Regions from separate parts of the Homo sapiens genome. Here region 2 is linked to region 1. The links are contacts of gene promoters, found by promoter capture Hi-C in blood cells and fetal thymus (Javierre and others, 2016). All regions are on one chromosome and are shown on one strand. Each heading gives the region's core, a stretch centred on a gene start or on the middle of the fragment in contact. The rest is flanking DNA. Distances are from core to core; before and after follow the strand shown. Region 1 holds the start of DNAJB8 (DnaJ heat shock protein family (Hsp40) member B8). Region 2 overlaps RUVBL1 (RuvB like AAA ATPase 1).

What was found. Contacts are between HindIII fragments. The CHiCAGO score rates a contact against its expected background, and 5 or more counts as called.
Region 2: a fragment that was not itself captured here is called in contact with the fragment with the promoter of DNAJB8 in region 1 in 3 of 17 cell types (erythroblasts, non-activated CD4 T cells and megakaryocytes); the score reaches 6.1 in erythroblasts.

Annotation. Positions count from the first base shown.
Region 1 is chr3:128,463,211-128,469,451 of GRCh38, reverse strand. DNAJB8 (DnaJ heat shock protein family (Hsp40) member B8) reads left to right here and starts at 2,562. Exons shown (of 3, transcript NM_153330.6): 1 at 2,562-2,838; 2 at 4,016-4,176; 3 at 5,342-6,241. The coding sequence starts at 6,207. It overlaps DNAJB8-AS1 (DNAJB8 antisense RNA 1), which reads right to left and starts at 5,858. Exons shown (of 3, transcript NR_037890.1): 1 at 5,725-5,858; 2 at 5,339-5,552. The HindIII fragment of the contact is 7,883 bases long and covers 1-3,307 here.
Region 2 is chr3:128,097,153-128,103,393 of GRCh38, reverse strand. RUVBL1 (RuvB like AAA ATPase 1) reads left to right here. Exons shown (of 11, transcript NM_003707.3): 5 at 1,746-1,835; 6 at 2,650-2,799; 7 at 4,449-4,512; 8 at 5,896-6,094. Among named protein-coding and RNA genes, the nearest start is that of RUVBL1, 24 kb to the left of the region's middle. RefSeq lists an enhancer at 2,663-3,182. The HindIII fragment of the contact is 3,585 bases long and covers 551-4,135 here.

The DNA of each region.
Region 1 (6,241 bases), core at 1,313-3,812:
ATGCCTTCACTCAGGCAGTAAACCCCTACTTGGGGCTAGATCTGAGCCTCCAGAGACCACATGAGCCACCACCAGGAAGGATGTACCTGGGTTGGGATGGCAGGGAAGGGATCTGGGCAACCCAGTGGGCACCTGTCATCACTGGCTTGGAGGACTGGGCAGGAAGGCTGCCTGAAGAGGTCTGAGAGCAGAGCTGAGATCGCCCTGGCACCACTGGGGAGGACGTGAGCTCACTGGCCCTTCTACGGTTGCGTAGCCCACCGCCTTCCCACCCCATGGGCCACCAATCTGCATGTAAGCCTGCCATGGGCCTGTCTGCCTACCATGGCTTCCACTGGCTCACCAGGCAGGCTGCCCTTTCATCTGTCTCTGCCCACCCATTATCGACACTGCCAGGATGCCAGCACACGCACACACAGCTCCTTCTCCATTCTGAGCTCCTCACAGTAACCCTGTGAGAGGGGACCATCATTACTTCCCTTTTACAGATGAGATGAGGACACTGGGGCACAGCCAGGTTATTGACTTCCCCAAGGACACATGGCTGGGGAGTGGCAGTGCTGGGGTTGGAACCCAGGCTGTGTCACCTGACAGGCTGAGCTCTTCCCCACTGTGGGATCTGCCCCTTGGCCCGTCTGTCTGTCCATCCGCCCATCCACTCTGTGACTGCCCACCGTTCAGCCCCTTCATTCGCCTGCCACTCTGTCCATCCAGCCGCCCGTCCATCCATCCATCGCTGTCGCCCATCCATCCTGGAGCTAATGCAGTTAGAGGACCAGGGGCCCTGAGGGGAGAGAAGGCCCCAAACTGCCCATCTGGCCGGGCCAGGGTGGCCGGGGGTGGGGTGGGCTGCCCAGGCCAGGCAGGCCTGCAGGGGGCTGGAGGGAATTAGCTGAGTGACTGCCAGGATCATCTAATTAGGAACTCTAGTGATAAGCAGATAGGATCGGGGGTGATTAGAATCCTTTTAAAAAGCCACTCCATTAATTACAGAGACAGAGAGGGGCCTCTGGCTGCTCCGAATACCAATTGGCTGCTTAATCGGCTCCATCAGCTCGCCCGGGGGAGACCTTCCTGGTACTGCTGTGTGACCTTCGGTGTGCCCTGCCCTCTCTGGGCCTCGCTTGGTCGCTGAAGGTCCTTCTCTCCCTGGCCATGGCTCGGGGTTGGCTTTAGGGTGGGCCTGAGATGAGGGACATGGGACATCTGAGGCCAGGAAGCCTAGGCTGGCTCCCCAGAGAGGGCAAATCCCCAAAAGCACCCACTGGTGAATGAGGACAGAGAGGCTTGAAGAGGGGAGGTGGCCTGACAGAATTGACGGTGGAGCGTGTGGGGCCTAAGTGTGCGCTCATGCCTGTGTGTCCCTGTCCCTCCAGCAGGCCCTATGGAGGCCTCAGAGCCCCTGATGCTCCCCACTGGCTCCCCAAAAACTGGCGTGGAAGGAGACTAGCCTGAACCCTTTGCAGAAGGGAAACTCCTCTGCACACTGCCCGGCTCCACGGTCCACAGCTCCCTTCATGGGGAGCTCCCCACAGGGGCCTCCATCTCAGGATGCCCTTGATGGTGAGGTGTGGGACCTGCTCCCAGGTGACACACCTGTTCCCGTAAGTCCTACCGAGTGGTCTGTTCTGTGTGCCCTAAGACAGCCCTGAATGGGCGGCAGTGAGGGGGTCTCCAGCCCTGTCTCCATCCTGGCTGACTCCCACAGACCCATCCCAGGAACAAGGGTTGGAGCAGGGCAGTGGCTGGAAGAAATTTCCCCTGGGAGTACAACGCAGACCAGAGCCAGGGTCTCCAACAAGGCAGGGAGGGCCAGGACGGGGAGGCGGCCACAGGATTCTTGGATGCCTCATCATACTAGGTCCTTTGTCTCTTAACATTGTTTTCACCACCCCTCCTCCACTGTCCTGATTCCATCGTCATGGAAACTTCAGGCTTCACCTTTACAATGTCAGGCCACCAACACCCTCAGCAGTGTCACCATCACCATCAACACCCCAGCGTCCCATCCCCATCTCCTCTACCACTGCCACCAGCCCCACTATCACTATCATCTCTGTCACCGTCACCACGGTGCTCTCCACCCGTGTCAGCATTGTGTCACCACCACATCACTGTCACCACACTTCCTCCACCTCCATCTCCACCCACCATCCCATCTGTGACATCACCTTATCAGCTCTGCCACCAGTATCAACCACTCACACCGCCTTTGCCATCACCACCGTCATTGCCCCCTCTACTACCACCACCATCACCACCACCGGGTCTGCCTCAGCCAGACCCACCACTGCCTCTAATTAGACTGCCACCATCATCACTGCCACCACCACTGCCCCTCCAATGCCTTCCTGATGTCACCATCTGCTTTCTCTCTGCTATCCTCACACCCAACTCCATCACAACCACCACCTTCATCTGAGCCGCCATCACCCTCACAGTACACAGCCCTCAAATGTGTACCAAGGAGGAGGACATTTACTACACGCTGCACCCTGAACAGTCTGGGACCAGCGGTCAGGGAACAAGGAATCGAGATGCTCACCTGCAGCTCCCAGGTGAGCGGCTCTCTAGAGCTTGCCTGGGAGCTGCTGAGGAGCTCACGGTATTCCAGGAAGCTCCCCATCCATGCCTCAGCCTGTGGCTCAGAAGCAGGGTCTTCGCAGAAGATTGCCCCGAGCTGTTGCAAAGCTCACCATTGTCACCTGCCTGCAACGGCCTCTCTTTTCCACTCTCCAAATCCCTTGTATTGGCAGGCTCTAGTCTGGAATTATACCGGTGATGGGATTCTGGAAAATCCCTCAGATTTCTCCAGGATGCAAGGAGACCATGGAAGAGGTTGGTGTAATGCCAAGTTAGCAACAGAAAATACAGAGCCCCACACCTCAGTGCCATCACCATCGCCATCGGCACTCACACCAGCATGTCCACCACTGTGTCCTTCTCACCCCTCGGCACCCCCCTCTACCATTGCCTCTTCCACAACCACCCTCACCACCATCCTCCATTAATAGCACAATTCCTGCCTCCTATCCCATCACCACCACGGGTGTCCCCGGCACCAGCAGCACCAACACTGCTCCCAGCAGAGCCATCGTTACCAGCCCCGCTGTCAGTCCCATCTTGAGCATCTGGCATATGTTGGAGAACTGCTCACTCCCTCTTCCCCATGGGAATCTCAGGCCTCTCTTCCTATTGCCCTGAGATTTGCAGAACCTTCCTGAAGGAAACATTCTTTGCCCCATGGATACTGGCCTTGACCATGGGATGCAGCAAGACTGCCACACATCATGGCCCAACAGAAGCTTTCAGAGGCAGCCCAAGTTCCTGCTGTCTCTGAGTGGCACTGTCATGAGAGAGGGGTGTGCAGGTCAGAGCTGATTCTCCAGCCTGGGACCCACAGTGAGAAGCTATGGGAGGTGGGGCCCTGGCAGCTGCCTGTAGGCACCAGTGAGTGAAGTGGGGGGAACTAGATGTTTGTCGTGAGCCACTGAGAGGTGGAAGCTGTCACTGTGGTATAGCCGAACAAGATACAACCTCTGCTACCTCCACCACCTTCACCTTCATCATCACCATTACTGTCACCACTGCCAACCACACCAATGGCTCACTAGGAGCCATTCCCATCACCTCCTCATCATACCTGCACCATCACTGCCAACCACAACAAAGGCTCGCTGTTACCATCTCCTCTGGCATGACCATCACCACCACCACTACCATCATCAATTACTCTCAAGCACAAGCCTTGCTGCTGTCACCACCAGCATCACCATCATCATGATCAACTCCACCATCACCCATAATTACTCTCCCCCTCACACCCACCATGACCATTACCTCCACATCAACACTGCTCCCATGGTCACCTCTACTATATAATGACACCTTATCCATCTCCATGGACACCCACCGTGCCTCTCCCCACCAGCAACACAGTCAACAGCAGTGCCTCTCCCACTGCCACCGCCATCATGGAGAACTGTGCAGGGCAAGCATCTTTCTCCCGCCCCAGGAACAAGCCTGCAAGGGACAGCAGGTGCTAACTGCTAACCGAGACATAGTGACAAAAATCCAGCCACAGAGATAAAGAATCAGGTTCATCTGTAGCTACATCCAGTGGAGAAGTTCTGCTCTTCAACTCCTCTGCTAAGCCACATGTGTCAGCAGGTGTAGGTGGGTGGATGCCCAGCATGGGGGTGCGAGTCGTGCTTTTGATAAGCTGCATGGAGGGACAGCGATGGTCACTGGAGGCTGGGTTTACAAAGTGTCTCTACAGTCTGTCTCCATTCCTCCTGGCATTTGGGATTGGTTAGAACACACACTGTCCCCTGCTAGGAGCCTGAAACCTAGCACCCATGAGCACTGAAAGAAAAGAGAGAGAGGGAGGATAATAGAAAGGGATGAAGACTAGAAAAAGGAAGAGGAGGAAGAAGGGAGGAATGAAGGAAGGAAGGAGGAAGGAAAGAAGCCAGGAGTGAAGAAGGGAGGGAAGGGAGAAGGGGGAAGGGGAGGGAGGAAGGAAAGAAAGAAGGAAGGAAGGAGAAAGGGAGGAAGGAAGGAAGGAAGGAAGGAGGAAATGAAGGAAGGAGGGGGAAGGGAGGGAGGGAGGAGGGAAGGAAGGCAGGGAACGGAAGGGAAGGGAAGGGAAAGAAGGAGGGAAGGAGGGAGGGAGGAAGGGAGGAAGGAAAGAAGGCAGGCAGGAAGGCTATCTTTAGTTAAGACTTGGTGACCCAAACATCTAGGCTCTTTATTGGTGTGGTTAGTAGGTGGTTTAGCATGGTTTTGATCTTAATTGGAGTGGGGTGAGGTGAAGGTAGGAACAGATATTAATCAGTATTGTGAATTGCTGTTTCTATATATGATCCAACACCAGAACAAGAATTAAAGGAATATAAATGCCTAAGAATATTTGGTTACCTCACTCACCTGATTCGTTTTCTAGGGCTGTTACAAATTATTACAAACTGGGTAGCTCAATACAAAAGAAATCTCTTCCCCCAGTTCTGGAGGCCAGAGGTCTGAAATCGAGGTGTTAGTGGGGCCGCACTCCCTCTGGAGGCTGCAGGGAGAACCCTCCTGGCCCCCAGCTTCCAGCTGCGTCAGTGTCCATCTCCTATACGGACATGTGTCACTGGATTTAGGGCCCACTCAGATAATCCAGGATGATCTCATCTCGACATCCTTAATTTAATTACATCCGAAAAGATCCTTTTTCCAAATAAGCTCACATTCAGAGGTTCCAAGGATTAGGATAGGAACATATCTTTTTGGGGGCCACCATTCAACCCACTACAGTCAGTAATCAATATTTATCATCAATTCCTATTTTTCTTACCAGAATTGAGTGGAACACTTCTTTGGATTTGCTGTCCGCTGCAGCCTTGGCCCTGGTTTCACATCCCCTCCCTCACTGACTCGCTGTGTGACCTTGAGCACTGTGTGTCTCTGAGCCTGGTTCATCCAAGAGTTTACCGACGGCCCTCGTGTGCCAGCCACTGTCCTAGACAGGGACAGACTTTCCCGCCTTTGTGGAGCTTACCCCGGAAGACCTGGCCAGATAATGGGCACAAAAAAAGCAGGCTCTTGTCCCCACCCCAGCCTGCCTGAACCCCACCTTGGCCTCCTCTTGCCTCAGCTGCTGCCCAGCCATCGGCCGAGTGGACATACCCAGGACGCCCTTGCCCGCCTCCCCCACCACGGCCACAGACCTTTGTCACTCACCAAGGCTGGAATCCCGTGGCTGATCCTGCCTCTGCCCTTTGGCTCCCGGGACTCAGCCCACACCACCTGGGTCACAGAGCATCCCATTCCCACACACCGTTGTGGCCACCTCACCAGCAGGGGCAGGCCCATATGCCCAGGTTTGCCTGGTGAGGAGCTGGGGGCGGGGGTATGCCCCGCCCCGGGAGCTGACGTCATAAAAGGAGCTCTGGAGGGCAGCCCACTCTGGCCTGGCCCCACAGCGGCAGTGTCCCTCCCCTCCCCCCACTCCTCTCAGTGGGGGCCCCTCCAGTCCCTGAGAATTGGTACTACGAAAAGGTGAACTCCTGGGCAGAATCTTGCCTAGAGCTTGCGGAGTCCAGCCAGGCCCCTGCTGAAGGGCCCCAGACCACCGGCCACTTCTCCCCCGTCCATCTGACCAGCTGGGCCCCTGCGCCCACCTGGCCTCCACGTTCCCTCTCCTCTCACCCACACCCCTGGCCATGGCTAACTACTACGAAGTGCTGGGCGTGCAGGC
Region 2 (6,241 bases), core at 1,094-3,593, 370 kb after region 1:
TTTTATACCTACCCCTCGTCACTTCCATTCTGAATTAATTAGATTTCTCAGTAGCATCTGCCACCTTTCCAGTAATTACATCTTCAGTCAATTCATTTGGGAAATTAACCGATATAAAAATGCTTGAGGCAAAAAAGAAGTATATTCTCCAATGTAGGACAGATAAAATAAGGCGTACAGTTTAAATTTCAGCTATTTGTAACACTGCTTTGTACAGTTTCTTTACAAAAATAATGTAGAGGAGAAGATGAAATTTTTCTTCCAAAATGAATACTTTTAGGTATTTTTAGAATATGTACAAGATATTTGGATAGAAGGTGCTCAAATACTTGGTGGATATTCAAGTCTGAAGGAGTCTTCTGAGTTCTAGCAACGAGAATGCCATTAGTACTCATGACCCCTTCCTGCCAGGCCTTACCTGGGGGCCTCACCCACTTTTGTCCTTAGGCGCACAGACTCACAGCAGTTCTGCCAGGGTCTGCCGTCCCCACCCAGCTAAGGAGAGGCAGAACCCTGGGTTTGCTGCTGTGGTGGTAGTTTTTTAAAAGCTTTATTCAGATAGCATTTTAAATAAAACTCACCCATTTTAAGTATACAATTCCAGGAATTTTAATTTATTTTCACAGTTGTACAATCACCACAATCTTAATTTCAGAACATTTTCATCGCCCCAAAAAGAATCCTCCTACTCATTTACAGTCATTCCCCATTCCAACTATAGCCCTCGGCAACTACTAATCTACTTTCGGTTGCCTTCTTTTGGACATTTCATATAAATGGAACATACAGTGTATGTCTTTTTTTGTATCTGGCTTCTTTCACCAAGTCCTGGGTTTTCACTTTTTAATTTTGTTTGGGCAAAGCCCAAGTTTTTTTTCCACCATAGCTACATTGTATAACATAGATCTCCATGAAGACCTCGAGAAACTTGTGTTTAACTATAGAATCCTTACAAAGGCAGCTGTCCTAGAATATTAATCACTGAGGGTCACCAGAATCTGGAGAAAAGCAACAGTTCCGCAAATCTGCTTATTTCCTTTCCTGGAGATATAAGCAGGCAGACCCAAGGGCACAAACACTGGGATGTGAGTCAAAAGGCTTGGGAAAGATTCTCATTTATGTTTTTCTTTGAATTACTGTATACATCTGTGATTGCACCTGGGTGCTGTTGTATAGATGAGGAAACTTAGAACTGAGAACCTTATCCAAAATCAAAGGCCCTGCAAGATGCCAGCTTTGAGATTGGTAAGCAGGTGCTGGCAGGTACTTCAGTTGTGGAAAGTTCCACCCCACCTGAGGTGAGGCAAATGAAGGAGTGAAGTAGGGATGATGATTTCAAGAGGGGTGATAGGGCCTGTGGTCCTGTGGACAGTGGGGGCTGGGCCCACCCGTCTCACGGCAGCCAGGACCATCCTTATAAAAGCGCTGCTGCCAGTTTACAGCCTTTGGAATCAAGGGAAAGAGGAGAGTACGTGTCCCCTGTGTCCCTCTCATGCTCGTTACATAGGGATGCAGGTATGCTGGCCCCCCTATTTTCTCCCTGGTGTGCTTAGTCCCCCAGCCAGTCTGTTGTGTGGTACTTATGCATTCACACTCCTGCAGGTCCCAGTATTCATGCAAACGCAAAACAGGCTTTCTCCATGCACCTGCTAGCTACCTCAGATCCCTTACGGAAAGGTACCTTACATGGTGTCAGAAGGAAATGGAATATGTATTACACTTCTGATTTACATTTTTTTTTTTAGCTGGACCCCAGCATTTTTGAAAGTTTGCAGAAAGAGCGAGTAGAAGCTGGAGATGTGATTTACATTGAAGCCAACAGTGGGGCCGTGAAGGTAATGCCTTCCTTGGGACACAGCATTGTCCCTGATTTGTTTGCCATGAGAAGACCTAAGTGACAAGGGAGTTGCTTTCTTCAGAGGGTGTGGGGTGTGTGGGGAGGGGCTGGTGTCTGTTATGAGGCTGATGGAAGGTCAACTAGTGGCCCTTTATGTATAATAAAGTTTGCCTTCCCTTTATCTTCATTCTTTAACCTTCTCGCGATTAAAACAGATAGTCTGTTAGAAAAAATACTAAAACCTGTTCAGAGGGGGAGGACAGGGTGAGAAACCAAAACAACTTTAGTCACTTTCAAATTGAAATGTGCAGTGTATTTAATCTTCCTTTTATCTCTTTGGTATTTTCTTCCCAAGATATATGCATGTGGGAAGGAACGCTGCATTCGTTGGCATTCTTTTCTATCTGATTTTCAGGGTCCTGTACAGTGTTCCTCACTGTTTAATGGATGGGCATAATACTTCATATCATACAATAAATCATCCACCTACAAAAGAGTCTGAGCAGCTCCTCTGCCTCCAGTTAATCTACTGGATTTGGCCTTTATCAGGAATTGCATACAGTTAAAAGAAAGAAGGGAAAAAGGATTTTGGGAGAAAGTATCAGGTGTTTTTCAACCCAGTTTTTGGAGCCCAGCGATGAGCAGATAGCTCCCTTCTCTTGGCAGCAGGGGAGTGGGGCATATTTGGAGTTTGTCAAGTAGGCTGTCAGGCCTGCAGTGGGAACTGAGACCTTTATCTCACTTAGCCCTGTGCCATTTGGGGACTTGGCAGTGAAAACTTACCAGGCACTCATGTTTCTCTCTTTTTGCAGAGGCAGGGCAGGTGTGATACCTATGCCACAGAATTCGACCTTGAAGCTGAAGAGTATGTCCCCTTGCCAAAAGGGGATGTGCACAAAAAGAAAGAAATCATCCAAGATGTGACCTTGCATGACTTGGATGTGGCTAATGCGCGGCCCCAGGTACTGCCTCGATGCCTGGGTGATCTGGCACATTAGCCCTTTTGTATGTGTGTGGAGATCTGGGAATGAATTGTCAGAGTCTTGCTGCCTTTCTTGAGGTAGACGGTCCTTTTCTATCTGTAATGTTCAGCAATTAACATCGACATGAGCTACGAGGGACTCCTTTGTTCCCATTCAAATGCTCTAGTCACAGATGATTTCATGTGTATTGTTTCTTATCCCAGCCAAGCCTCTGGCCCTGAGCTAGCCAGCTTCCTCCATGGCTTCACTCCAGCAGTGGGCTCACACCTGGGATTTTCTGGGTGTTAATGGCAGGAGGGCAGGAGTGTTCTATGAGCCCTTTACAGGATTTCAGAAAGCCTAACAAAGCTCTTTCTTTCCCCCTGCTTAGCAAAAGCCACAGTGTTTTAGCTTTGAGCTGGTACTGTTGTCTGCTTCTCATACAGATGGATACTTATGCCTTGGCTAGTAAAGTGCAGGAAAGGATGTTATCACTATATGACATTTCTAGGAAATAGTGAATAGTCACTATTAGGGAATAGTTTGTTTTCTGACTTGAAATTTGATCCGTGGGTGTTTTGTTCCTTGGAGCTTTGGTCAAGAGATTACTGAAGACTCATCTTGGACCAACAGGTCCCCTTGGTTGGTGAAATGGCCATCCCCAAACTGACCTCCTGGGAGCCCTTGACCTGAGAAGAGTGCTGGGCTGGGAGTCAGAAGTCAGGAACTGTGTTGCTCCATCACTGACCAGCTTGGTTAATTTGTCACTTTGGGTCTCTGGGTTTTCTGTGGTTTGGGGTTCGGTTTTGAGTTCCCTCCTACTTGGCAAGGCAGTTTTGAGGACCAGACAGGAAACATTTGCTGCCTTTAGCTATTCAGCATTTAGTGAGCCCTTCTGTGTCTCAGGGCCTGGTAACCAACAGGTGATCACTAAATGCTGAATAAATGACCAAACACCAGCCTCTTCCTCTTGCTGACTGCACTGTTAGGAGCCCGCAGGAGGATGCAGGTGAGTGGTGAACCTGTTATGGAGTCAGCCATGATCAGCTCCAAGTTAAGTAAGGACTAGGCTGATGCAAGCCTGTGGTCAAATCTAGTGAGAGGAGGCACAGCAATATAATCATGGTATATTTATACTTGCTCTTTATACTTACTCTTATAGTCCATGTGTCCCCAAAGGCACAGGAACATTTGGAGGAAGTCCTGAGTCCGGTTAGGGTCAGATGCGCCCTAGAGGGCATTTGACGTGAACTTTAATGACTGGGAACTTCTAGGAAGGAGAATGGCATTCCTGGCAGATGGAATAGACTCAAAAGCATTGAGTCATAAAAAAGCTTGGGGGTGTCCAGGGCAGGGCTGGTAGTCTTGTGTGGCTAATCAAGGAACAAGGGGTTGGAAAAAGATAGGGCTGGAAAAGGAGGCTGGGCAGGCCCCACGGAGCTTATACTTGCCATGAAAGGATTTTGTTTGATTCTTACAGGTTAGGGGAACCTCTAAAAATTCCTCTGTGTTTAGAAGCTCCTCAGGCTTTGAGGAGGGGTCTCCATACCTCAGGATCCCATGTTGAGTTGATGAGTGGGATGCAGGGGGATGAGGCTTCTGTAGTCACCTTAGAAAGCAGCACTGACTCTAAGTCTTCTCTTATGCAGGGGGGACAAGATATCCTGTCCATGATGGGCCAGCTAATGAAGCCAAAGAAGACAGAAATCACAGGTAGGAGAACCAGTGTGCCCTGTGAGCAAGGGGCAGGGCGGAGGGCCCCACATTCTGAGATGCTCTTGCGGCTCTGTGAGCACAGTCGCCCTGAGGAAATGCCTCAGAACAGTTCTTTCTTCCTCATAGCTTAGAGCTTGACTCTAGCCTAAGTTTCTGGCGGCATTTAGGCAGCCATATAGCACACTGTGTGCTATCTGCCCCACTGCAGTCACAGTTTCTGGCCCCTATGAGGCCCCAGAAATAGGGATTTGTGTCGCCCAGCTCTGCTGGAGCACAGGCTCTGGAGCCTTGGGGCTGTCAGCCCCCTCCCTAGTAGAGCACAGGGCAGCTCCACAGACCAGCTCCACATACTGCCCTGCCCAGTTTGTGGGCACTTCCCAGAGCTCCACAGGGGACACTGCTGCTGCTCCCCTGTGAACCTTTATTTAACCTGCTGCTCTTCCCAGCTTTCCTGTTGCTGTTTTTTTTCTAATTCCACCTACAGTTTCGTCACCTTAAGATGTTAGTTAAACATTAAAGCAAATATTGTCTTTAAAGTTTAAGCCAGGGCAGCAATCTGAGACCTTTCTGTTCGAGTTGTCAGAAGCAGTTTCTTTCTTTTCACACGGTTTTCGGTGTGCATCCTCTTTGGACAATCCCCGCCTCTTGCCTTTGGTGGAAGACGCTGCCTCAGATCTTCCAGTTTTCTATTTGTGAGCTGCTCCCTCCTGATGATAACACAGGAGCTGGTTTGGAAAATGAGCACTGAGACCTTAGCTGGGTTATGTAACTTTTGAGAGACTCATCCCTCTAGGAGCTCTGAGATTGGGCCTTTCTTCAGAGCCTTTCATTCCTCAAAGGTTTCTGCTCAGGATTCTAAAAGCACCCACTTCCTTAGTCCAGGCACTTGATTGAAAGTTAATTAACCTAAGCATTGTTGTATGGGACCAAAAGAAAGGGTCATTTACTGAGTATAGAACAGGTAAATTTGCATGTGAAAACTCATTTCACCCAGGGCTCCCAAACTCCAATGTCTCCCAGATCAGACAGAGCTAGATTGGGTATGTGGGAAGTGATAAGGCATGGTAGGGAGTGTGACAGCAGTGAGCGTGTGCTGTGAAGGGATTCCCATGCAGAACACCTGTGCAACCTTTTTACATTTAACCAAACTCATCTTTTGGGGGAGGCTGCCAATTTTGTGACCTTTTAGGTGTGATTATCACTGTGTTCAGATGACGACACTGAAACCTGGAGTGGGGACACACCCTGTCTGGGATCACATAGCTAGTAGGAAAACTAGGCTCCTAGCATGGGTTTGGATTGAATTCAGGTGGAGGAGAAAAGGCGATAGTCTCCCCCAGCCCTGTGCTGACCTTGCCTGCCCATCCTTGCATCTCCTAGACAAACTTCGAGGGGAGATTAATAAGGTGGTGAACAAGTACATCGACCAGGGCATTGCTGAGCTGGTCCCGGGTGTGCTGTTTGTTGATGAGGTCCACATGCTGGACATTGAGTGCTTCACCTACCTGCACCGCGCCCTGGAGTCTTCTATCGCTCCCATCGTCATCTTTGCATCCAACCGAGGCAACTGTGTCATCAGGTAGGATGGCTGCCTGCCAGCCACAAGGCTTTTTTAACTTCCATCTGGGCTCATTTGTTCCTCAGGATCTCTCCAAACCCCATGAGGTGGGACAGGGATGAGGGGAGGTCATGTTGTTTTTGAGGGAAAATGTGCCAAGTGGCTTGC